6 separate regions of the Homo sapiens genome follow, and regions 1, 3, 4, 5 and 6 are each linked to region 2. The links are contacts of gene promoters, found by promoter capture Hi-C in blood cells and fetal thymus (Javierre and others, 2016). All regions are on one chromosome and are shown on one strand. Each heading gives the region's core, a stretch centred on a gene start or on the middle of the fragment in contact. The rest is flanking DNA. Distances are from core to core; before and after follow the strand shown. Region 1 holds the start of LOC102724808 (a long non-coding RNA gene). Region 2 holds the start of GP5 (glycoprotein V platelet). Region 3 has its middle 73 kb from the start of OPA1-AS1. Region 4 has its middle 85 kb from the start of LINC02038. Region 5 has its middle 100 kb from the start of OPA1-AS1. Region 6 overlaps OPA1 (OPA1 mitochondrial dynamin like GTPase).

Region 1 (4,397 bases), core at 1,788-4,287, 720 kb after region 2:
ATAAAGGGCCCCATGATTTTCATGATTATGTGTAGCCATTAGATTCATTGTATCATCTAACTCAGTGTCCACTTTAAGGGAAATTTCTCTCAGTTGTGCGTACGAAGAAGACCCATGCTTCTCCTAAGCAACTGCTGTGTTGTTGTCTGATGGCCACCATGAATGATGGAATGACCTCTGCTTTCCATTTTGTAACTGCCAGCCACCAGGAAACTGAGGGCTAAATTTGCAGCTTACCTCTAGCAAAGTCCCAGCATACTTGGGAGATATGCAAGTTTGGTTCTAGACTGCCACAATAAAGCGTATATCACAATAAAGTGAGTCACATAAGGTTTTTTGGTTTTCCGGTGCGTTTAAGTTACGTTTACAGTATACTGTAATATATTAAGTGTGTAATAGCATTATGTCTAAAAAGACAATGTACATAACTTATTTAAAAGTACTTTATTGCTAACAAATGCTAAGGATCACCTGAGCCTTCAGCAAGTCATAATCTTTTTGCTGGTGGAGGGTCTGGCCCTGACGTTGATGGCTGCTGACTGATCAGGGTGGTGGCTGTTGCAGGTTACGGTGGCTATGGCAATTTCTTAAAATAAGACAACAATTGTAGTTTGCTGCACTGATTGATTCTTCCTTTCATGAAAGATTTCACAGTAGGATGTGATGCTGTCTGATAGCATTTTACCCACAATAGGTAATTTTGGGTAAATTTTACCCAAATTTACTCAAATTTTTCTTCTTTAAAAATTGGGACACTATCTTCTCAAACCCTGCAGCTGCTTTATCTACTAAGTTTATGTAATATTCTAAATCCTTTACTGCCATTTCAACAATGTTCACAGCATCTTCACCAGGAACAGATTCCATCTCAAGAAACCACTTTCTTCAAACTGAGACTGCCAAAAAAAAAAAAAAGAAAAAAGAAACCACTTTCTTTGCTTGTCCATAAAAAGCAATGTTTCATCTGTTCAAGTTTTATCATATTACAACAGAACTAATTCTAGTTCTATTGCTGTCTCTACCATATCTGCAGTTACTTCCTCCTCTTAAGTCCCAAACTCTTCAAAGTCATCCATGAGGGTTGGAATCAACTTCTTCCAAACTGTTAATGGTGACATTCTGACCTCCTCCCATGAATCCTGAATGGTCTTAACAGCATCTAAAATGGTGAGTCCTTTCCAGAAGCTTTTCCTTTTTTTTTCTCCTAAATCCATCAGAGGAATCACTATCTATGGCAGCTAGGGCCTTAAGACACGTATTTTTAAAATAATAAGACTTCAAGGTTGAAAGTATTCCTTGATCCATGGGCTGCAGAATGGATGTTGTGCTAGCAGGCACAAAAACAACATAAATCTCCTTGTACATCTCCCTCAGAACTCTTGCTTGACCAGATGCATTGTCAATGAGCAGTAATATTTTGAAAGAAAACTTTTCTGAGCAGGTCTCGAGAGTTATAATATTCAGTAAACCATGCTGTAAACAGATGTGCTGTCATCCAGGCTTTTTGTTCCACTTTTAGAAAACAAGCAGGATAGACTTAGCATAATCCTTAAGGGCCCTAGGATTTTCAGAATGGTAAATTCTTTAGGTTGGCTTCAACTTAAAGGCACCTGCTGCATTGGCACCCAAAATGAGGGGATAGCCTCTCTTTCGAAGCCTCGAAGCTGGGCATTGACTTCTCTCTAGCTATTAAATTACTAGATGGCATCGTCTTCCAATAGACAGCTACTTCATCTGCATCAAGAATCTGTTGTTTAGTATAATCACCTTCATCAATTATCTTAGTTAGATATTCTTGATAACTTGCTGCAGCTGCTACATCAGCACCTTGCACTTTCATGTTGCAGAATGGCTTTTTTCCTCTTAAACCTTATGAACCAAACTTTGCTAGCTTCAAATTTTATTCTGCAGCTTCCTCACCTCTCAGCTTTCGGAGAATTGAATAGAGTTAGGAACTTGCTCTGGATTAGGTTTTAGCTTAAGGGAATGTTATGGCTGGTTTGATCTTCTATCCAGACCAGTGAAACTTCCTGCGTCTCAGGCAATAAGGCTGTTCTGCTTTATCATTCGTGTGTTCACTGGAATAACACTTTTAATTTCCTTCAAGAACTTTTCTTTTGCATTCACAATTTGGCTAATAGCCCATTTTGGCTTTCAACAAACCTCCTTTACTAAGCTTAATCATTTCTAGTTGTTGATTTAAAGTGAAATATGGCACTCTTTCTTTCACTTGAACATGTAGAGGCCATTGTAGGGTTATTAGCTGGCCAAATTTCAATATTGTTGTGTCCTATGGAATAGGGAGGCCTGAAGAGGAGGAGAGAGACAGGGAATGTCTAGTTGGTGGAACAGCCAGAATACACACGTTTACTGATTAAGGTCACTGACTAATATGGGCACAGTTAGTGGTACCCAAAATAGCTACAATACAAACATCAAAGATCACCATGACAGACAGAATAATAATGGAAAAATTTGAAATATTGCAAGAATTACCAAAATGTGACAGTGACATGAGGTGAGCACATGGCTGTTGGGAAAATAGTGCCAACAGGCTTGTTCAATGCAGGGTTGCCACAAAACTTCTATTGTTAAAAATGCAATAACTGTGAAGTGCAATAAAGTGACATGCAATACAATGAGGTCTGCCTGTACGTAGAACCCTTGAGCATGCACTTTGAGGGGCACCAATTTTATCTGAAAGTTTACTTTATTTCACTTGCCTGGATTTTCCTTTTCTTTCAACCCAAATTTTTCACTTAAGTAGTTTTATCTTTTGCGTAGGATATATGTAAGCTGCCTCAAATTCCTTTTGGAATATGCCAGGGAATTAATAAACAAACTAACAAGCTAGTCCACAGAAGATATATTATTAGCCAGCTGATTCACATAATACACCACAATATTCTAAAAGTGGTCATTTTATACTGGTAATAGTTTTTAAATCAGTAATTTAAGAATATTCTGCAGGGCCATAGAGGGACAATATTTGTTACATAAAACCTTGCATAAATAATTTCTGCATGGGAGAAAAAGTAAATTATTTTTATTTCTGCTGAATTCTTAGAAAACCCAATGATATCAATATCTATTCCTACAATACTTATTTTCAGCAACAGAAGTAAAAGCATAAATGTTTATGGGATTTATGATCATCTTTTTAAATGTAAAAAATGAATAGATTTTACCATAAGATTACAATGATTTACTCTGAAATATTTTACTTTTGTATCCAATACATAAGATGCTCCACACTTAAATTATCACAAAAAACTTAAAAAGTTATTTTATATGTTAACTCATTAATGATACATGGCTTTGTTTTCTCAAAAAAGAGTTACATTATTTCAAAATGAATACATTCATTTTACTCCCTGACAAAAATCTAAATATCGATAATACATTTTAAAAAATATGATTTAGGCAATTAATTGGGAAGATTAAAAAAGATCAGTAAAATATTCTTAGTCAATTAAATGCTTTAAAAATTCATCTTTTCTTCTTTTTCTCTTATTCCTAAAATTGTATTTTTCCCTGATTTAGTTAGGAGGAAAGCAGAAATGTTCTAAGAAAAGGAAAACCACCCAGGCAGCTCTTAAAGAGGTAGGCATCATTTATCACCTGCAAAGACAGATTTATAAGAAGGCCCCTTCTGTTCCTTTAAGACTGCAAAACAGATGGGAAGTGAATGGACAGTCAATGGGACAAGAAAACACATGGGAGGTGCTGCTGTATGCATGTTCCCAGCATAAGAAAGAGGTCAAGATTGTAACTGCATGACTGGGTCCTGGAAAGGGTCTTTCTTCAAGCTGTTACAAAGACAAACGCTGTTCCTCATCCTGCTGTCAAACTGTTATAAATATTGGTTTGTCAAAAGACCTTCAGTGCTGAAGCTTTAAAAAGGAGGCATAACAGACGAATGAATCATGAGAATGATTCTTAAACAGTCAGTTCATCACTGTAATTTTAAAAGTAAAAGATCAGAGAATGTAATTCTGATTTATACACCAAACTAAAAATTCATAAAAAAAGAAATTAAAAATCGTAGGTTTTAATAAAATTATGAATTAGGTGAGATGAAAGCAAAAATGAAATACAAGTTCCATTTCTTAAAAAAATGGTGTATTAGGATAAAGCATTATGAAACTTAGCACAAGAAGAACAGGTATTCATGTTAGGCTGATTTCAGAAGTTCTCGGTTTATCACCGAGTTTATCTTACAGAGGTGCTGTTTATCACAACTGAGTGAGAATCAGGCTCAGAAAAATAAAAATAACTTCTAAACTAATTTCATTTATTCCATTAAACTGGAAAATCACCTTTAAGTCACAATTTCTTTTCTATTGAACAATCACAAAATTCAACTGGCACTGAGCATACATAGATTTATAAACCTA
Region 2 (4,152 bases), core at 1,542-4,041:
CCTAGGGGCTTGAGTGAGACTGTCCGTGGTCCAAGTTGGGGTGTGGTTGCTCCCTGCTGTGCCCGGCCCACTGAGTCTCCCTCAGAGGAAAAAGGCTTATCTCACCCAGGCACAGACCTGCTTTTGAATAGCCAAGCCCCTTAAGCCAGGTAACTGTTTTACAGCAGACTTCTGACCTGGTAATGGATACAGAATCTTAAGACTTGGAAGCACTGGAGCTGTCAACTTCCTTGCTCCAAATACTTCTCATTACCTCATCAACTTGCTCAGTGGATGGACTAAGAGTGTTCCCCCACTCTGCAACTGCCATACCTACTTTTCCCTTCCTGGACAATCAAAGTGTCTTCCTAAGGGACAAAATGTAGAGGCCATTCTGACTGGAGGTTTTCCTGGGGAAATAGGCTAAAGAAGGGCCACAGGAATTTGAGCCATCGGCATCTTACTCTGTTTCACAGCTCGCCTTCCCAGTCTGTCATGTTGGCTCCCTGGCAATTTCATGGGCAAGGGGGCGGGGAGGCTTTCACTCGATGTGCCTATGCATGACGGACTTACCAGGTCACCAGTGTAGCAGTTCAGGGCTCTGGAGTTGCATTCCTTGATCGGAACTGAAAGACCTCCCGCGATACCTGGCAGAGGCAGTGGCTCTTCCCTGTGGTCCAGGGCTGCGTGACTTTGAAGGTAATTTCAGTCAACCCAGCCTTTACTGGGCTCTGACTGCATTAGGCTGCATCAAAGGGGATTGGATCCCATGATTCTTTATATCTTCTGACATTAAGCCTTTGTCAGCTATAGGTGTTACAAATATCTTTAGTTTGTGGTTTATCTTTTCCCCTTTTTTATGGTGTCTTGAAGGATAGAAGTCTTTTTTTTTTTTTTTTTTTTTTTTATTGATCATTCTTGGGTGTTTCTCGCAGAGGGGGATTTGGCAGGGTCATAGGACAACAGTGGAGGGAAGGTCAGCAGATAAACAAGTGAACAAAGGTCTCTGGTTTTCCTAGGCAGAGGACCCTGCGGCCTTCCGCAGTGTTTGTGTCCCTGGGTACTTGAGATTAGGGAGTGGTGATGACTCTTAACGAGCATGCTGCCTTCAAGCATCTGTTTAACAAAGCACATCTTGCACCGCCCTTAATCCATTTAACCCTGAGTGGACACAGCACATGTTTCAGAGAGCACAGGGTTGGGGATAAGGTCACAGATCAACAGGATCCCAAGGCAGAAGAATTTTTCTTAGTACAGAACAAAATGAAAAGTCTCCCATGTCTACTTCTATCCACACAGACCCGGCAACCATCCGATTTCTCAATTTTTTCCCCACCCTTCCCGCCTTTCTATTCCACAAAACTGCCATTGTCATCATGGCCCATCCCCAATGAGCCGCTAGGCACACCTCCCAGACGGGGTCGTGGCCGGGCAGAGGGGCTCCTCACTTCCCAGTAGGGGCGGCCGGGCAGAAGCGCCCCCCACCTCCCGGATGGGGCGGCTGGCCGGGCAGAGGGGTCCTCACTTCCCAGTAGGGGCGGCCGGGCAGAGGCGCCCCTCACCTCCCGGATGGGGCGGCCGGCCGGGCGGGGGGCTGACCCCCCCACCTCCCTCCCGGACAGGGCGGCTGGCCGGAAGTCTTAATGCAGACAGCATTATCAGTGTGTTCAAAAGACACGTAGACACGTTTTGCCTATAGACAAATGGGCAAAAGGAAACCCAGCTTTCTCAAATGAAGCACAAGTGGGCCTTAATTATGTGAAAAGGTGTTCAAGTTCATCATTAAACAGGGAAAGGAAAAGTTAAAATCATGCTGAGATATCTTTCATAGAAATGGCAAAAAGCAGGAAGTGCCACGTGTGGGCAGAGAGGAAGCACAGGAACTCTCACAAATGGCAGGTGTCATCGTAGACCAACACAACCACTTTGGAGAGCAGTTTGACTTTCCCCAGTTAAACTGAACATGTGAGCGGCCGGGCGTGGTGGCTCATGCCTGTAATCCCAGCAGTTTGGGAGGCCGAGGCGGGCGGATTGCCTGAGCTCAGGAGTTCAAGACCAGCCAGGGCAACACGGTAAAACCCCGTCTCTACTAAAATACAAAAAATTAGCTGGGCGTGATGGTGTGTGCCTGTAATCCCAGCTACTTGTGAGGCCGAGGCAGGAGAATTGCTTGAACCAGGGAGCAGGAGGTTGCAGTGAGCCGAGATCGCACCACTGCACCCCAGCCTGGGCGACAGAGTCCCCCTCCCCCACCAAAAAAACAACAAGTGAGCATCCTGCAACCTAGCAATGCCATTGTTGAACAAGTTCAAAGATGTTCTTAGCCTTATTAGTCCCAAAAGGAAGAAAAAAATGGAGGATTTGAGAATGTTCTTAGCTTTATTGCTAAGCGGAGAAAGAAAAACAACACATACCAAAAAAAAAAAAAAAAAAAAAAAAAAAAAAAAAAAAAACCTGGGTGGGAAATTAGGGCCATGTGGCATGAAAAGGAAGACCCAGGGGAAGTGTGGCCCATCTAGGGGTGTGGCTACTGCAGTGATCCAGCTGTATCACTGAACTTCCCTGGCATCATAGAGTTATATTGTGCCATTTATGGAAAAACTCTCCCCACTGCTCTTGGCTTTGACAGTAGGAATCAGGTTATATATGGTCTCTCGGTTTGAAGATATTTGTCATTAAAAACCAGAACAAGGGCTCTGAGATAGGGTCCTTTCCTGACCTACTCTGGTAAAGTCTTTATCCTCAGGATGCAAGGATACCACCCTCTTCCTGTGGAAAGTGTCGAATCACATGCAGAGCTCTAAGTCTTTCAGTTACTTTGGAGTGCAGAACCATTTCAGGTAAGGCCAAATATTTTAAACATTAGTATAGGAAATTAGAGGGCTCTTTAGTCTGTGTGTGCATGAGAAGTAAAATTGCACGAGAAGCAATTTATGTAAAATTTCGCTTAGGAAACATTGTTTTGGCAGGTTAGTAGTATGGTGTGCATTTCCCAGAAAATTCAGTGCCGTGAGTATTACCTTTAGTTAAGCATCTTAGAAATAGTAGCTCTTTATGGCTAAGTCAGAAATACTACCCTCAAATTCTATGTGACCCTAGTTATACTGTTGAGCCTTTCTGTGCCTCTGTGCCTTCATCCTTGAATCGGGGATAATATACTTACCTCCTAAGGTTATTGTAAGGATTAAATGCATGTAGTATAAATAAAGAGCTGAGAACAATGCATGGCGTAAAGTGATAGGTATTATTATATGCTTTTGTTGGCTGTTGATTGAAGGTGTTCGCTGTTTTGGGGGTGTCCTTTAATAGAGTAACTTGGTACTGTGGAAATAGCATGATTGTGAGCAAAAGAATCAGATGGTGGTGGCTGCAGACTTTGCTGTTCCCTTCTTGACTGTTGGTTATAGCCAATGCAGGGTAAGTTATAAAGTCAAGAGCAGAGCCGTTTTCACAATGGACATTGCTTTGTGATGTCTGTGAGCTTGAATGTGAGAATGATTATTTTAATTCTCTATGTAAGGACTTTAAAGTATTGGCTATTCGGTAGCTTGAAAACTCTGTAATCTCAATGCTTTAAACTGAGAGTGGAAAATCAATAAAGCAAAAGCATGAGGCCACGCAGTGTAGAATGAGTGTCTTTTCACCACGTAGGGAAATCTGTAGTCCTAAGAAAAGAGGGAGTGAGAATTCTGGCGAAAGGATTGTGCCTCTGCACAAAGTGCAGGATCCCAGGGTTCAGTACAGGCGCGAACGCTCCTGTGTGTTGACCACACTCCCACGGTTGCTTTTTCAGACATGCTGAGGGGGACTCTACTGTGCGCGGTGCTCGGGCTTCTGCGCGCCCAGCCCTTCCCCTGTCCGCCAGCTTGCAAGTGTGTCTTCCGGGACGCCGCGCAGTGCTCGGGGGGCGACGTGGCGCGCATCTCCGCGCTAGGCCTGCCCACCAACCTCACGCACATCCTGCTCTTCGGAATGGGCCGCGGCGTCCTGCAGAGCCAGAGCTTCAGCGGCATGACCGTCCTGCAGCGCCTCATGATCTCCGACAGCCACATTTCCGCCGTTGCCCCCGGCACCTTCAGTGACCTGATAAAACTGAAAACCCTGAGGCTGTCGCGCAACAAAATCACGCATCTTCCAGGTGCGCTGCTGGATAAGATGGTGCTCCTGGAGCAG
Region 3 (3,912 bases), core at 709-3,208, 700 kb after region 2:
TTGACAGGCCTTTGCGAGCCCTCAGCTTCTTTGTGTCTCTCACATAATAGAGAAACACAAAGTGAGCAGCACACGACCTGTGGTTACACCCTTGGACAGAGCACACTCTTTGCAAATGCTAATAGTATTGTAGCATCCTGTCACCCGGTAACACAAAAAAGGATGTTGATTTTCACATGAACCAGAACAGGCCCATTGTACACAAGTTTGTGACCAACTTGTAGTACCTGCACATCAAAAGGCCAGCCAATCATAGAGTACACAGCTGGCGAAACGTACCAACGGGGGGCGCCCAATGGGGAGAGCATCCAGGTCCAAATGCCTCACTCCACCAACAGGATAAGAAAACAATGCTTTTGACGCGAACAAAATTACACTCTCAGAATCTTGATTCAGCTATGACCAGAGCAATGAGTATAATTAGCAAGAATGTGAATGTCTCAGATGTTTTGAGAAATCTGAATGTATGAAAGTGGGAGTGGCTTTGTGATGGTACCAACAGCCTATGAAATGGCAGAGGCAGCAAATGGCAGGCATGTTCAATTAAGCATTCATATTAGAGATGTTCTGATACGGGTAAAGATAACTCATACAGATTTTGGCATGAAAATCTGTCTTTCGGTCCTAATAGTCTTGGGAAACCAGACATATCTCAAGGCAAGAAAATTAAAGAATGTACATGAGATACCTGGAATATAAGTTTAGTAGAAATTTTAAAGAATTCTGCTAATAGCTTTTCCTTCAAAATAATTTTATTGGGGGTGGGGCGCAGAAAGACACTCAAAAGTAGTAATTTGGGCCAGGCTAGGTGGCTCACGCTTATAATCCCAGCACTCCGGAAGGCTGAGGTAGGAGGCTTGCCTGAACTCAGAATTTTGAGATCAGTTTGGCAACATATTGAGATCTCATCTCTACTAAAAATTAAAAAAAAGATTAGCTAGGCATGGTGGTGTGTCCCTGTAGTCCCACCTACTCGAGAGGTTGAGGTGGGAGGATCACTTGAGCCCAGGAGGTCGAGGTTGCAGTGAGCTGTGATTGTGTCACTGCACTCCAGCATGAGGGACAGTGAGAAACCCTGTCTCAAAAAAAAAAAAAATAGTAATTTGGAAAAAGAAAATATTCAATCAAGTTTTTAAAAACTGAGGAAAGAGCAATTCCATATTTTAATACTTGGACTAACTAAAAAAGATTGACAGAATCTGCACAGGATAAAATGAGAGAATTAACATTATTAACATGTTGAGAATTGCAAAGCACTTGTTTTTTACACCTAAAACTTAAGGCCTGGCGTTAACATGAAATTAGAACCTACTGAATCTCATCTTCTTGTCCACTAAGGTCTCACAGGCAGCCACACATCTCTGCTGATAGTTCCATTCTTGCAATGCAACAATAGCCTCATGTAATTAGTAAAGACTATCATAGGCCATTTTTGTTATGAGTTAGGTCATTTTGTACTTTCTAGGTATATCATGTGCCCTAATGTGCTCCTAATATCATAAATGTTTACTTTCCGAAAAGTATTTCTGAAAGGGAGCATATTTTGGAAAGTGCATAGGCTTGTAATCATACTTGTTTTCAAGTTTCAACTTTGCTATTCAACTAGAATAACCTTGTGCAAAACCTGAGCTGATTTTCTCATCTATAAAATGGAAACAATACTTTCTGTGATAATGGGTGCAAAACACAAGGTATACTGGTTTCTTTGCTCTGGATTCAAGTTTTCTTCTTAGTTTCAAAATTTTAAAGGGAAACCAAAAATGTTTCATGGGACCAATCCTTGGCAAGATAGGATATTGACCGTTCAAAAAGAATTCAGTGGAGTTTCTCCATGGATCCCAAAATGCTGCTGGCCAGTTTTAGTCTACTTTGTAGTGTTCTGAGTCCTGCTCAGACCTTTATAATAGGCCCTTAGTTAGGATGTGTTAATATTTCTGGAATGGCTGCAAACTTACACATATCTCTCTGCATCCTTCCTCTCAACACACATCAGGCACCTCCTGCTACTGTGGTGTTGCTCCCGGCAGCGGGGAGGCAGGCATGTTATTGTCACTGGGTGTGTACTGTGTCCTTGAGGTGATTTCTGATTTTTTTACTATATATATATATGAATTGATTGTAGAAAAAAATTATATACATTAGGTATGCAAGGGGAGTGGCTGTGTACCACCTGGAGCATTATGGCACATGTGGGAATTCTTAAACCCTCTAGACAAATATATTTCTTAAAATGAGAAATAAGTAAGCATTGTATTTTCTTAGTGACGCAAACTAACACAGAAAGCTGTTTCTGCGTTAAGATGTATGGAAAGAGAGATTAATAACAAAAATAGAACACAAACTAAAGGAGCAGAAAAATGGTTAGGTTCATTCCTTCAGTTGAGAGGGAAATTAATTTCAGCATTTCCTGGCAGCTGAAGCAAAGAAAATGGTAAAGTCTTGAGTTCTCATTGTCACAAGGAGAGCAGTACATACATGTGTCTGGAGGGGAAACCGCTGGTACTATCTAGTAATCCTTAATGAATTTCAGTGATAATCAAGACATGTCATTAGGTTAGACTTCTGCAAAAGAGACTGTGTATTTTCTTCAAATAGATGTGTCATAAGGTCTTGCCTGTGAAGCCAAGGACGTAATATCAAAGAGGTAGGTAAGTAGCAGCCCAGGCAGTATTGCTTTCTGATGATTTGGCCTAATCTCAGATGAAGTTTACCAAAGCAAAAAAAGGAGGTTAACCTATTCCCTACATATTCTCTCACAAATATCAGAGGTCTCAAGAGCTTTTGGAAAGTATTAGGTCACATAAACCATGAGCATATTTTCTGACAAATGGATAAAATTCTAACTTCCGTATTGTTGCTCTGTGATTTAATAACTACAAGAGTAAGCAGCAGAATGAGTATTCTGTTCTGAACATTAAAGAGTGTAACTTATATTCTTAATACAGCCGTAAGACATATCTCTGTGGGGGGCTGCTGGCAGTATCACTGCACTGTGACTAGATCTTCAGGGGTGCCTCTGGCCTAGTTTTTTCAAAAACAGATCTCTGAATTTCCCAAATACTTGGAAAGGAACAGTTTACACCTGGGTTAATGAATTAAAAGTACTAACAGCAGGAACAAGAATTTTTTATCACAAAGAGTAACAATCACGCCTGTGATCCCAGCACTTTGGGAGGCCGAGGCGGGTGGATCACGAGGTCAGGAGATTGAGACCATCCTGGCTAACATGGGGAAACCCCATCTCTACTAAAAATACAAAAAATTAGCCAGGCATGGTGGCAGGTGCCTGTAGTCCCAGCTACTCGGGAGGCTGAGGCAGGAGAATGGCCTGAACCCGGGAGGTGGAGCTTGCAGTGAGCTGAGATCGCGCCACTGCACTCCAGCCTGGGCGACAGAGCAAGACTCCAACTCAAAAAAAAAAAAAAAAAAAAAAAAAGATTTTCATTTAACAGCATTTATAAGTAGTATTTACCTCCTTGTCAGTGACTTGGCCACAAATGCACCTTAACGCGGCTTCTGCAGAATATGTACGTAACTCACGAGAAGTCTTGGAGAGGAATCACATACATACTCTCAATTTTCAAGCTCAATTCTGTCATTTTAGGATATAAATTTAAACAAATGCCTTATGATATAGGTTTTTCCTACCCTTAGTTTTAGAAGCTGTCTTCTTCCAGCTAGAGATCACCCATATTTAAGCCTTCCTGATACTGTCTCCTGGTTTTGAACCTTTAACAATTTTTGTAGTATTTGTTTGAACACTTAAGTTTTCTACACTTATTAACTGGGTCTAATATGTGCAGGACATGATTGTTTTAGTTATCACAAATCGGGTATGTGGTTATTTTAAGACGTACTTCATAATTAAATACATCTGTATTATCTATAGGCACATGGTAGCTATTTCAATTT
Region 4 (3,987 bases), core at 1,421-3,920, 640 kb after region 2:
CTAAACCCCACTGGAGGGGTCTTCTGGAATCCTGATAGCCTAAACCCCACTGGAGGGGTCTTCTGGAATCCTGATAGCCTAAACCCCACTGGAGGGGTCTTCTGGGGAAGCTGATGCTCATCTGCCCTGTGGTAGGAAATGGCCTTTGGGATGGCAGCAGCTTTGTAGATTTCTCCAGGATGTCCACATCAACCGACTTTTCAGACTGTTTATTTCCGATGCACATGTAGGCGTTCGTATGTGTATTTCTTCAGAAATAGGGATCTTTTCTGTTTCTGAGAACATACAGAGAAACAGATTCTACAAATCTATACAGTAGCAGTATACGTTTCCTCCAACCGTGCTCCTGGTTTAGAACAACATGTAAGTACAATGGAATGGCAGAGATTCTATCCTTTATCTATTCCAGCCTCTAATTTTATGAATGCTGAAACTAAGAGGCAGAGAAAGAAAGGACTTCCCCTTGTTGACACAATAGTCAGAAACAGGCTGTGCCCAGGCCTCTAAATTCCTGAGCTAGTGCTTGCTCCTTGCTACCATACTCTGCAGTACAGTCTTTTCTGATTCCAAACTGTCATTGGACTTTTGACCAAGGTGTCATTTCTCTGGAAATGTCAAACTTACTTAGGAGTGTGTTGCCAAAACAGAAAGGCATCTTTTCAGACTTTGTCCTGTCACACTGGATTAGAAAATGTCATGCTCTTTCTTTAAGGTGATCCAAGATAAAATCCAGCCTGGATGGATGGAAAGGTAAAGGGGAGGGAAACAAATAAACAATACAGCCTGAACTAGAAGGTTGAGGTCCTGGAAATTAGTCCTCATGATGTCTTTTACCATTATGTGATCTAGGGGTCATTCTGTCCCACCTTGGTCTCTAGACTAAGCTTCCACACACATAAGATGAGAAGTTTTCACCAAATGGTCCTTAGTGTTCTGTGTCCAGGGCTCCTTCAGTCAAAGAGTACCCTTGGCTGGGCGCGGTGGCTCATGCCTATAATCCCAGCACTTTGGGAGGACAAGGCAGGCGGATCACGAGGTCGGGAAATCGAGACCATCTTGGCTAACACAGTGAAACCCCGTCTCTACTAAAAATATAAAAATTAGCTGGGCATAGTGGTAGGCACCTGTAGTCCCAGCTACTCAGGAGGCTGAGGCAGGAGAATGGTGGGTGAACCCAGGAGGTAGAGCTTGCAGTGAGCTGAGATTGTGCCACTACACAGAGCGAGACTCTGTCTCTAAAAAAAAAAAAATAGAGTACCCTGCCTTTGTTGGTGTTTTCATTTGCCACCATAACCAAGAGAAGACAAGATGTCATCTGGGCCACATGTAGAGCCTTTAGTGTCCTGGGAGTCATTAAAATCCATGCATGCTGAGCCCTCTCATAGACAGCAGGAAGTTCTTTCCTAGTATGTGCTGCTGTTGGGAGAGAAATTATAGGATACAAACTGGGGAGTCCAAATCTAGTGTGTCACAAAAGCCTGGTTTGACCATAGCTGCCAGATACGGTTTGGCTCTGTGTCCCCACCCAAATCTCATCTGGAATTGTAATCCCCATGTTAAGGGAGGGACCTGGTGGGCAAAATCTGATGCTTTAAAAGTGTTTGACAGGCCGGGCACGGTGGCTCATGCCTGTAATCCCAGCACTTTGGAAGGCCAAGGCAGGCAGATCATGAAGTCAAGAGATCAAGACCATCCTGGCCAACATGGTGAAACCCCGTCTCTACTAAAAACACAAAAAATTATTATTGTTAGCTGGGCGTGGTGGCGTGTGCCTCTAGTCCCAGCTACTTGGGAGCCTGAGGCAGGAGAATCGCTTGGACCTGGGAGGCAGATGTTGCAGTGGGCTGAGATCGGGCTACTGCACTCCAACCTGGCGACAGAGCGAGACTCCATCTTAAAAAAAAAACGTGTTTGACGGTTCCCCCCTTTCTCTCTTTCTCTCTCTCTTGCCACCTTGTAAAGAAGGTGCCTGGTTCTCCTTTACCTTCCACCATGTTTGTAAGCTTCCTGAGGCCTCCCATCCATGCAGAACTGTGAGTCAATTAAACCTCTTTTCTTCATAAATTACCCAGTCTCAGGTAGTATCGCTATAGCCATGTGAAAACGGACTAATACACTGCCCCTACAGAATGGGCAGATGCTCTCATGGCCAGTTCTCAGTAACAGCAACATCTTGTGATCAATTCTTCAGTTTCCTATTGAAAGTTGCTCCTCACAGGCATCTCTGGCTAAGAGGTCTTTGTGCCTTGAAGAATAAAAACCATGGGTATTTAGGAGCTAATTTATTTCTCTTTTAATCTTTAAGGCCTTCTGTTTTCATCTATTTTAGTCTAATACCAAAAGGATCTGCTTATTTGTGGATTCATTCATTTAATCATTCATTCAACAAATTATTCTTGGCTCCTCCTATTTATCAGTCACTATGCTAGACTGGGGCTTCACACAAGGTTTTTGCCCTCACAGAGCTTATAATCTACTGGGAGAGGCTAAAAATGAGCAATACATATATGTGTAATTACAAATAATTTTAAGAGCTCTGAAGTAAAAGAAGAGGGAGCTGAAGGCAAGAATAACACATGAGACTAATTTACACTGGGCAGTGACAAAGTGACAACTTATGCTAAGATAGGTTTTTGCAAGTACATTCAGTGCTTACAGGTTTCACATGGAGCCCAATTTTCTGTTAACCTAGAAAGAGAGATTCAGCAGAAGGTGATGAGTATAGTGGAAAACAGTGGTTCCATGCAGTCCAACACCACGTTTATTTCCTGGGTGTAAGAGAGAAAATTAGTAGAATAAGTCTGCCCAATGCTGAACATCTCCCTTTTTGGGAGTTTGCAGTCAGAAAAGATTGTGTTTAGTAATAAAGCAACCATTTCTTTTTTTATAGTACATGTTGGCCAGTTTCTAGTTAATCCCTATAAACTTTCTCAGTTAAATCATTCAGTCAGCCAAGGTTGAGTGACACATGACTTCCTTGCTTTAAGCAAAGGGGTCTTGTTAAAGAATATTACAATGGTTTAAGAGAAATTGGATCCTACCACTCTGCATCATCAGGAAGACTAATCTTGCAAAGAATTAAAAACACATGGGGATTTCTGTGTCTGATCCTGACATAGTAACTGGTACATAACTTGCCTTCACTTAAAACAACTACAAATGGGGAAAAACACATGAGGCAAATGTTTTCAGACACGGAGCAATAGGCAATAGGGGAATGTGATTTGGGAGACAAGTGAACTATATGACGTGAGTTCCATGGTCACCCCAGTTTTTTTCCCAAGGAAATTCTCCTGCTGCAATAAAAAGAGCTAAGGAGGCAGAGATTGAAGCTTTGGGATATAGACATGGCTGAAATTTGTGGGGTGGGATATCAGAAAAGAAGATACTGCACAGAAAATCAGGCCACTGAAGTCTGCATGGGGATGGACTGTGGGTCTGTGGCTGAGAACTCAGCTGCCCATACACAAGGCCTAGCAAGGGTCACATGCTGCAGGACTGGGAGCTGAACAGAGAAACCAGAAGTCCTGCTTTGCTGAGAGACGTTGGACTTCTGTCCCAAGCAGAACATTTTGAAGATTCAGTTGAGATTCTAAAAAGGTTATGCCTTGAGATGAAGAACCATGCTGTATAGTAAGGGCCAGCTCTAAACCTAAGCTCAATACAAAAATAGATCCCTTCAACAATGCAGGGATTAGAGGGGAAATGGAATAAAAAAAAATACGCCCACTTTCACAAAGAAAAAGAAACAACTCTAACAGGACCAAAATTATATTCCAAACACTTAACTGCCTTCAAGAACAAAATTCAATGTCCTTTAAAAGAAGGTGACAAAATCTGGACTCCCTATATTATCCATGTCAGAGAACAAACAATAAAAAATTATCAGACATGAAGATATAGGAAAATGTGACCCAGTTAAATTCAAGAAAAAAAAAATCAATCAATAGAAATAGACCCTGAGATGCTCCAGGTGTTAGAATTAAC
Region 5 (3,950 bases), core at 1,423-3,922, 670 kb after region 2:
AATTCTCTGGAATGAGAAGCCCTTCCCATTTCTCCCTCCACTTCCATCTATCCTCTTCCCAGAGCAGCGTGTTCTTTCCTTTGCTCATTCTGTTCCCTTTCCACGAATCCATGGCTCCCTCCCTCAGGATCTCTCAAATCCCAATGCCTCCACAGAGCACCTTTGGATTCTGTCCCCAATGGCTCTGATGGTAACCCCTGCATCCCCATAGCCCTTGTGAATATCTGTCTATATCATCTTTTGTACCTTAGCTTTTAGCATAAGTGTTTTGCAAATCTGGCAAATACACTAAATTGCTCCTTGAGGCCAGGGATGGTGTCTGGGGTTCCCCTGCCTCCCCTACAATCACTGGCCTGTTGGTACAATTCCCTGAGTTGAACTGCAGGGCATAGCATGTGAGGCTGAGTCTCTGGGCAGGTGAAGGCAGGCTGAGTCTCTGGCTAGCTGCCACCCCTGCATCCACCAGGACATTGGCCATGCTGACTGGAAGTTTCCTCTACCACTTTGTTCAACAAATATGTATTTGTCACATGAATCTCCTCAATAAAAAATAGCTCATTTGATCTTAAAGTTGTGTATGTGTTGGTGGGGAGGGGAGGGACATGGGATGTGAACAGGCAGGTCTTACATCTGCATTTCACCTGGGTCATTTATTCATTTGGATTTGTCACTTTACTCCTTTAGTACTATTTCCTTATCTGTAAAATGGGAATGATAATAATGACACCACCCTGCCCTCTGTCCTGAGTGAGTTGAGGTCCGAATGTCTGTGAAGAACAGTTTGTAAACATATGGAATCAACGATTGCTAAGCAAGTACCCCTGGGCTGGGAAGTGCCATTCCTTAAGTCATTACTGTCAATAGTTGGAAACTGAGTTGACGATTCACAGAGTAAGACTGATTTTTTAAAGTATATATAATTATGGTCTTCCTCGTGCAAGAAGTGGGGCTGGGGCTCCATGGGGTAGGTGGGAAGGACATTCGGAAGGTGAGCAGTGCAAGTCTGCATATGAAGTGGCAACTGGTTTTCCTGAAGTCAAGGGGATATGGTGCAGGGGATGAGTGCAGGCCACAAGTAGGAGGTCGGTTTGGAAACTGGAAGACTGGGCTGTACTGCAGAGGCCTCCCACATGTAAGTGGAGCTTTTGAAGATTTTGAGCAAAGAAGTGAGGTGTTGAGATCTTTGAGTTCAGGAAGCATGGCCGGGTGCACTCAGTGAGGAAGGGAGACGCTGGGGACAGAGCAGCCCATGGGCAGGTGACTGTAGTCACTCAGTGGGGCTGTGGACTGGGCTGTGGCAACAGTGAACAGAGGGCAGGCTCACAGCCATGCTGCAGGAAGCAGCCTTTGCAGGTGACTGACTGCCTGGGATGAGGGTGCGGGATGGAGAGGGAGCAGCACCCACCACACCAAGGCTGGACCAGATGCCTCCTCTGTTATCCCAGGGTACGCTTGTCAGTGCACGCATCATAGCAGCTTGAAGCTTGTCCCCCATCCTGGACTGTACATAACACAGCAACATTATACCCCAATGCAGGTGCTAAGAAATACGTGTTGAATGAATGAGAGTGACTCAAATTTACACTCCACTTTCAAAATAAAAGCCCTTAGCCAAAGCTACTCCTTGTTTGGGAGGGAACTCAATTTTGGATTATGAGATCCCTGGATTTTTCCCTGGTTTCAGGATGGATGCAGCTCCAGGAGATTCCCTGGCTCTGCCGTGGCTCTTCCCATATAATGCAGGCCCAATGGGAACACTGGGTTACCTGGACCCCCATCCTCCTCATCACTGATAGTCATCAAGGCCAAATTTCTGGAGTGTCTACTCTGTGCCAGACTCTGGAGATGTGACAGATATTATCTTATTTAACTCAACTTCTCTTTATGGAAATCTTTTGAGTAAAGGTTTATAATCCCATTTTTTTCCAGAGGTCTTAAAACTGAAGCTTAAAAAAAAGGTTTGTAACTTTCCCAAGGCCACTCAACAAGGCATGATGGATGTAGTCACACCACAGTGAGGCCCTCGAGGATGGGCCTGGGTGTGTTCTCTACCTTACCCGCATACCTTTGCCCACACTGTGCAATTTTCAGTTTTGTTGAATGAGTGAATGAAACAACATTTTTCTGACTCCAAGCTCAAACACATTTTGAGCCTTCGTTGTCTTATCTGAAAAATGGAAATAATATGAAACTCACACACAGGCTTGGTGTGAGGTTAAAATGGGTCCTGGCAATATGTTTGGGAATCCTAGGGGTATGTAAGCCACCTTCCTTCCAAAAGTCCCCAAATCCCAGACTGCCGAGAATGCCTGCAGACACCCTTCAGACGAGGTGTGGCCTTCAGAGCTCAGCTCTCCTCCCACCAGGGCTCGTTTGTAAAGCCAGGTCTGATACTTAACACCAGCATCATCACCTGCCACCAGGCAAATGAGGAAACCTTCCATAAAAAGCTGAACAAACTCCCTTTATTTCTAATGCACCTGAAACCTGCTCACGACTCCCAGCCGCCACCCCCATCCCAACCACACCTCTCAGCTCTACCTGCTTCCAAACTCTAACCCTTTGTCAAGGAAGTCAGAGGAAGTGAAAGGTTAACTGAAAGGGGGGCGTCTTTGTTGCCAGAATAAGTTAGCGGTGGGGTTGCTGTCTCCGCCACTGCTGCTAAAGTTTCAGCTGCTGCGGCCACACAGAGCAGGGCCTTGTTCTTTCATGAAAGTTCTAGTCTTAGTTTTGTTTCAGGGATGTGGAGACTTCAGCAGGGCTTTTGTGGCCAAAGAAATCTCCTGGACAATAGGGTCACCCTCCAAAGTGTTTGCTCCACCCTGGAGGGAGAGCTGGGGCTTACAAACTGCACGGCTGCACTTGTGGACGTGGAAAGTTCCATGAGGGTCCAGGAGAAAGGGAGGAGTCTAGCCTCCACCATGCCAGCCACTTCTTAGGCCGAGTCACCATGCTCAAAGAGCACTGCCTACAGCCCTCACCTCGTGGGGCCAACATCAGCCACACCCACCCAGGGACGAGATGGGAGATCTAGACCCAGTCGAATTGCCTCACTCAGAAGCTGGCTTTTTCTGCCTGATGCAGCTAATGACCCCTCTTTGTCTAGAGTGCCAGACTGTTTTGTGACCACACACATCAAGTTTAGTAGGGAAAGTAAGGGTGGAGATGGGGTAAAACGTTACTGAGCATTAAGCTAATATCAGGTGCAGTGGGAAGCACTTTAATAATAATTTTTGTTAAGCACATACTATGTCCTAAGCATGCTATTAAGCATTATATAAATATTATTTTGTTCTGTGTTCATAATAATCTTCCAAGGAAGATAGGAATATTATCATCTTCATTTTACAGACGAGACTGCTGAGATTCAGAGGGATTGAGTGACTTGTCTAAGCTTATATAGAATATAAGTGGTGACGCTGGGACTTAAATATGGGAATTGAATCTATATCTGTACAACATAGATGCCCAAATTTTCATATTTTTTTCTTTACGGAAGTATAACTGATGTACAACGTACTATACATATTTAAAGCATACAATTAATAAGTTCCCGCATCTGTGAAACTATCATCACAAACAAGACAATGAACATATCTGTCGCCCCCAAATTTGTCTCGTGTCCCCGTAATACCTTCATCCTGTATTCAGGCAACCACGGATCTACTATCGCCATTTATCAGCTTGCACTTCCTACAATGTATGGTTCCTAGAACCATATAGTATGTACTCTTTTAAAAAAAAATGTGGCTTCTTTTACTTAGCATAATCATTTTGAGATTCACCCATGTTGTTACATGTCTCAGTGGTCCACTTTCTTTTTCTTTTTCTTTTTCTTTTAAAGACAGGTTGTCACTTTGTCACCCAGGCTGAAGTGCAGTGGTGTGATCTTGGTTCACTGCAGCCTCAGCCTCCCAGGGTCAAGTGATCATCCCACCTCAGCCTCCCCA
Region 6 (2,517 bases), core at 1-2,500, 760 kb after region 2:
TATCAATTTTTCACATACCCGTGGCAGATGATCTTGCGTATTATAACTGGCATCATAATCAGAGAGAACATCAAGAACTTCAGAATACATGTCAATCAAAGATTTCTGTAAAAATTTTAAAAAGTTATAATATAAAACAGTAAAAGTAAAGAAAAAAATATAACAGATGTGTCAAGAGAAAAAAGTGATAAATTCAAATTGTTTTTCCATAATCATTGTACTGTTTTCTCAAATTACATAAATACATCTTCATCGTAAAAACTAAAACGGTACAGATTAAAAGTCCATTTCTCATTCAGTTTATTTAGATACAATGATTTAATAAAGTAAATTAATTCAGGATTTCCTAACATTCTAATTAAATAAGATGGAAATTATTACTTAATACTGATGAGCTAATACTGAATGCAAGAAAAGACCATTAACACCAAAAAGGCAAAAAAAAGGTGGTCAGGTAACCAACTGACAATGAAATTATTCTTTGCTAAGTTTGAGGCATGCATGAGAGAGAAAGAGAGAGGACAGAGAGCACGTGCAAGCAAGCATCTGAATAAAGGATAAACCAGGAAGACTGTTAAACCAGTAAGGGTGGTTAAGTATCCACTGACAACTGGGCAGGCTGAAATATGAGTGTAGCAAGGGCAAATATCCTGTATCGTTTCTTGCTGTAGAATCAGAAATGAATGTGGTGCCTTGCATTGCGTGTAACAAGCTTCATGTAAATTTGATGAATGAATGAACAAAAAAATACACAGGCCTGAAAAAAAGGGGTACCATCAAGCATTTAATAATTATGGATAAGTTTTAATGCTAAGGCAGGAGCAAAATGATGGCTTAAGGGTCCTTTCATTTCTTAATCCCTAGAAAAAATTAAATGGCAAGCAATTGCCAACCCACCAGCCTAAAAATAAACAAAAAATGTTAATTGCCACTGCATTTTATGAGAGAAAATACTGTTTCTGAGGTAAACTCTACATATATTAGCACTTGGAAATGACTTTTCTCAGTTCTAAGTGCCACTTGTAAATAGTCATGTTATCTGTTTTATGCAGTCATGATTTATAGTCAAAGCTACTAATGCATGTTTGTTAAGCTAGAACTGTATTATCTTTGGACCTTGACTACAGAATGTACATGCCATGATTTACTGCAGTTTTGCTACATATAAACTCTGCTTACTTATATGAGATTTAAGTTAAATAATTGTTTCAATTCAATTTAGCACATGTGGTTTAGTTGGGTGGGGAATAGTAAGACTTGATTTATTGGTAAATAAGTTCACCAATGTGCTGATAGTAACAATACCAGCACACACTTTTTCGAAAGTTCTTTGAAATGCCTAAGAAAGCTCTCCTTAGAAGAAAAGTGTTAATTTTTTAAAAACTGAAGAAAGTGGTCTAATCATTCACTGGCATACAAGTAAAGCAATGATGATAAGTCACTTACATGTCCATCAATTAACAATTCTGATTTTATATAAAATTTTATGTAAAAGTTAAGCCTAGAGATAAACTAGATATTTCAGAAAAATAAACTGATTCACACGAAATAACTCTTAAAAGTGTAAAGATTTTATGGGCATAGTATAAAACAAGTATTTGGAGACTACAACTTATAAAATGTCTTAATATAGGAAGAGATCCTCCATCCTCCAAGCACATTAGGTTAGAAAGAAAAGGATGACAGAATACTTTACAGCTCCTTAGAAACTGGTACTGATGAACACACAACGTTAAGCGGTAAAATTTTGAGAATAAACAAGACAAACTTAGAATACCTTAAGCTTTCTATGATGAATGCCTTTGTCATCTTTCTGCAATACTAATTTTCTCAATTCTTTGTTCTCCTTTTCTAATCGTTCCAAGATTCTCTGATACTTCAACTGCAATAAAATAATAAGTGTAACTATATAAGCAAAAGATGGGTTATCAAATAGTATTAAGTCTAAATTAAAATCTTCCAAAATCTTGAAGTCATATCTCCTATTTAAAATGTATTACATTTTAAAAGCATCTACGAAAACATTAGGAATAAAATAAACAATGACTATTATCTCTTACAAACAGTGGAAATCATTGTAATTTTCTATCATAATTAAGAATTTCACTTGGAAAATTCCTTGCTACTCACATTGAAAAAATTATTTTGAAATAGTGAAAACGTAAGAATTTAAAGAAGTAGTTCTTAAATACATTCTAGAAGGGAGTATTTCCTATTATATCAAAATTTTAAGTCTTCACATTACAGGGCCACTTAACAAAAATTCAAATTCTTCCCTTTCTTCACATTATTTTAGATTTTAATTAAGATGCTATAAAATAATAGCTAGCAGTACCCAAGCATGCATTATGTGACAGACTCCTTAGTAAGTGGTGCAAACGCATTAACTCCCTTAGCCTTCACAAAAACCCCATAAAGCAGGAATTACACAGACTAGGAATAAAGAGCGAGGAATATCTGAGAGCCTGACCAAGGTCACTTAGTAGAGGAGCAGGGTTTTGAATAGAGGGCTGTCAG

The links. Contacts are between HindIII fragments. The CHiCAGO score rates a contact against its expected background, and 5 or more counts as called.
Region 1: a contact is called between a fragment that was not itself captured here and the fragment with the promoter of GP5 in region 2, in 6 of 17 cell types (naive B cells, endothelial precursors, naive CD8 T cells and 3 more). The highest score is 7.8, in naive B cells.
Region 3: a fragment that was not itself captured here is called in contact with the fragment with the promoter of GP5 in region 2 in 2 of 17 cell types (M0 macrophages and M2 macrophages); the score reaches 5.7 in M0 macrophages.
Region 4: a contact is called between a fragment that was not itself captured here and the fragment with the promoter of GP5 in region 2, in 2 of 17 cell types (M0 macrophages and endothelial precursors). The highest score is 6.2, in M0 macrophages.
Region 5: a contact is called between a fragment that was not itself captured here and the fragment with the promoter of GP5 in region 2, in 3 of 17 cell types (endothelial precursors, M2 macrophages and M1 macrophages). The highest score is 7.8, in endothelial precursors.
Region 6: a contact is called between a fragment that was not itself captured here and the fragment with the promoter of GP5 in region 2, in 1 of 17 cell types (naive CD4 T cells). The highest score is 5.3, in naive CD4 T cells.

Annotation. Positions count from the first base shown.
Region 1 is chr3:193,679,792-193,684,188 of GRCh38, reverse strand. The region is part of intron 29 of OPA1 (OPA1 mitochondrial dynamin like GTPase); the gene reads right to left. It overlaps LOC102724808 (a long non-coding RNA gene), which reads left to right and starts at 1,090. Exons shown (of 5, transcript XR_924835.3): 1 at 1,090-1,167. RefSeq lists a silencer at 3,663-3,863. The HindIII fragment of the contact is 1,717 bases long and covers 2,179-3,895 here.
Region 2 is chr3:194,397,905-194,402,056 of GRCh38, reverse strand. GP5 (glycoprotein V platelet) reads left to right here and starts at 2,791. Exons shown (of 2, transcript NM_004488.2): 1 at 2,791-2,819; 2 at 3,773-4,152. The coding sequence starts at 3,775. RefSeq lists enhancers at 855-1,407, 1,408-1,961. The HindIII fragment of the contact is 7,722 bases long and covers 1-4,152 here.
Region 3 is chr3:193,698,288-193,702,199 of GRCh38, reverse strand. No RefSeq gene overlaps it. Among named protein-coding and RNA genes, the nearest start is that of OPA1-AS1, 73 kb to the right of the region's middle. RefSeq lists an enhancer at 9-68. The HindIII fragment of the contact is 4,711 bases long and covers 1-3,912 here.
Region 4 is chr3:193,756,726-193,760,712 of GRCh38, reverse strand. No RefSeq gene overlaps it. Among named protein-coding and RNA genes, the nearest start is that of LINC02038, 85 kb to the left of the region's middle. The HindIII fragment of the contact is 1,329 bases long and covers 2,006-3,334 here.
Region 5 is chr3:193,726,274-193,730,223 of GRCh38, reverse strand. No RefSeq gene overlaps it. Among named protein-coding and RNA genes, the nearest start is that of OPA1-AS1, 100 kb to the right of the region's middle. The HindIII fragment of the contact is 1,448 bases long and covers 1,949-3,396 here.
Region 6 is chr3:193,634,783-193,637,299 of GRCh38, reverse strand. OPA1 (OPA1 mitochondrial dynamin like GTPase) reads right to left here. Exons shown (of 31, transcript NM_130837.3): 9 at 1,778-1,882; 10 at 19-105. Among named protein-coding and RNA genes, the nearest start is that of OPA1-AS1, 8.7 kb to the right of the region's middle. The HindIII fragment of the contact is 1,071 bases long and covers 715-1,785 here.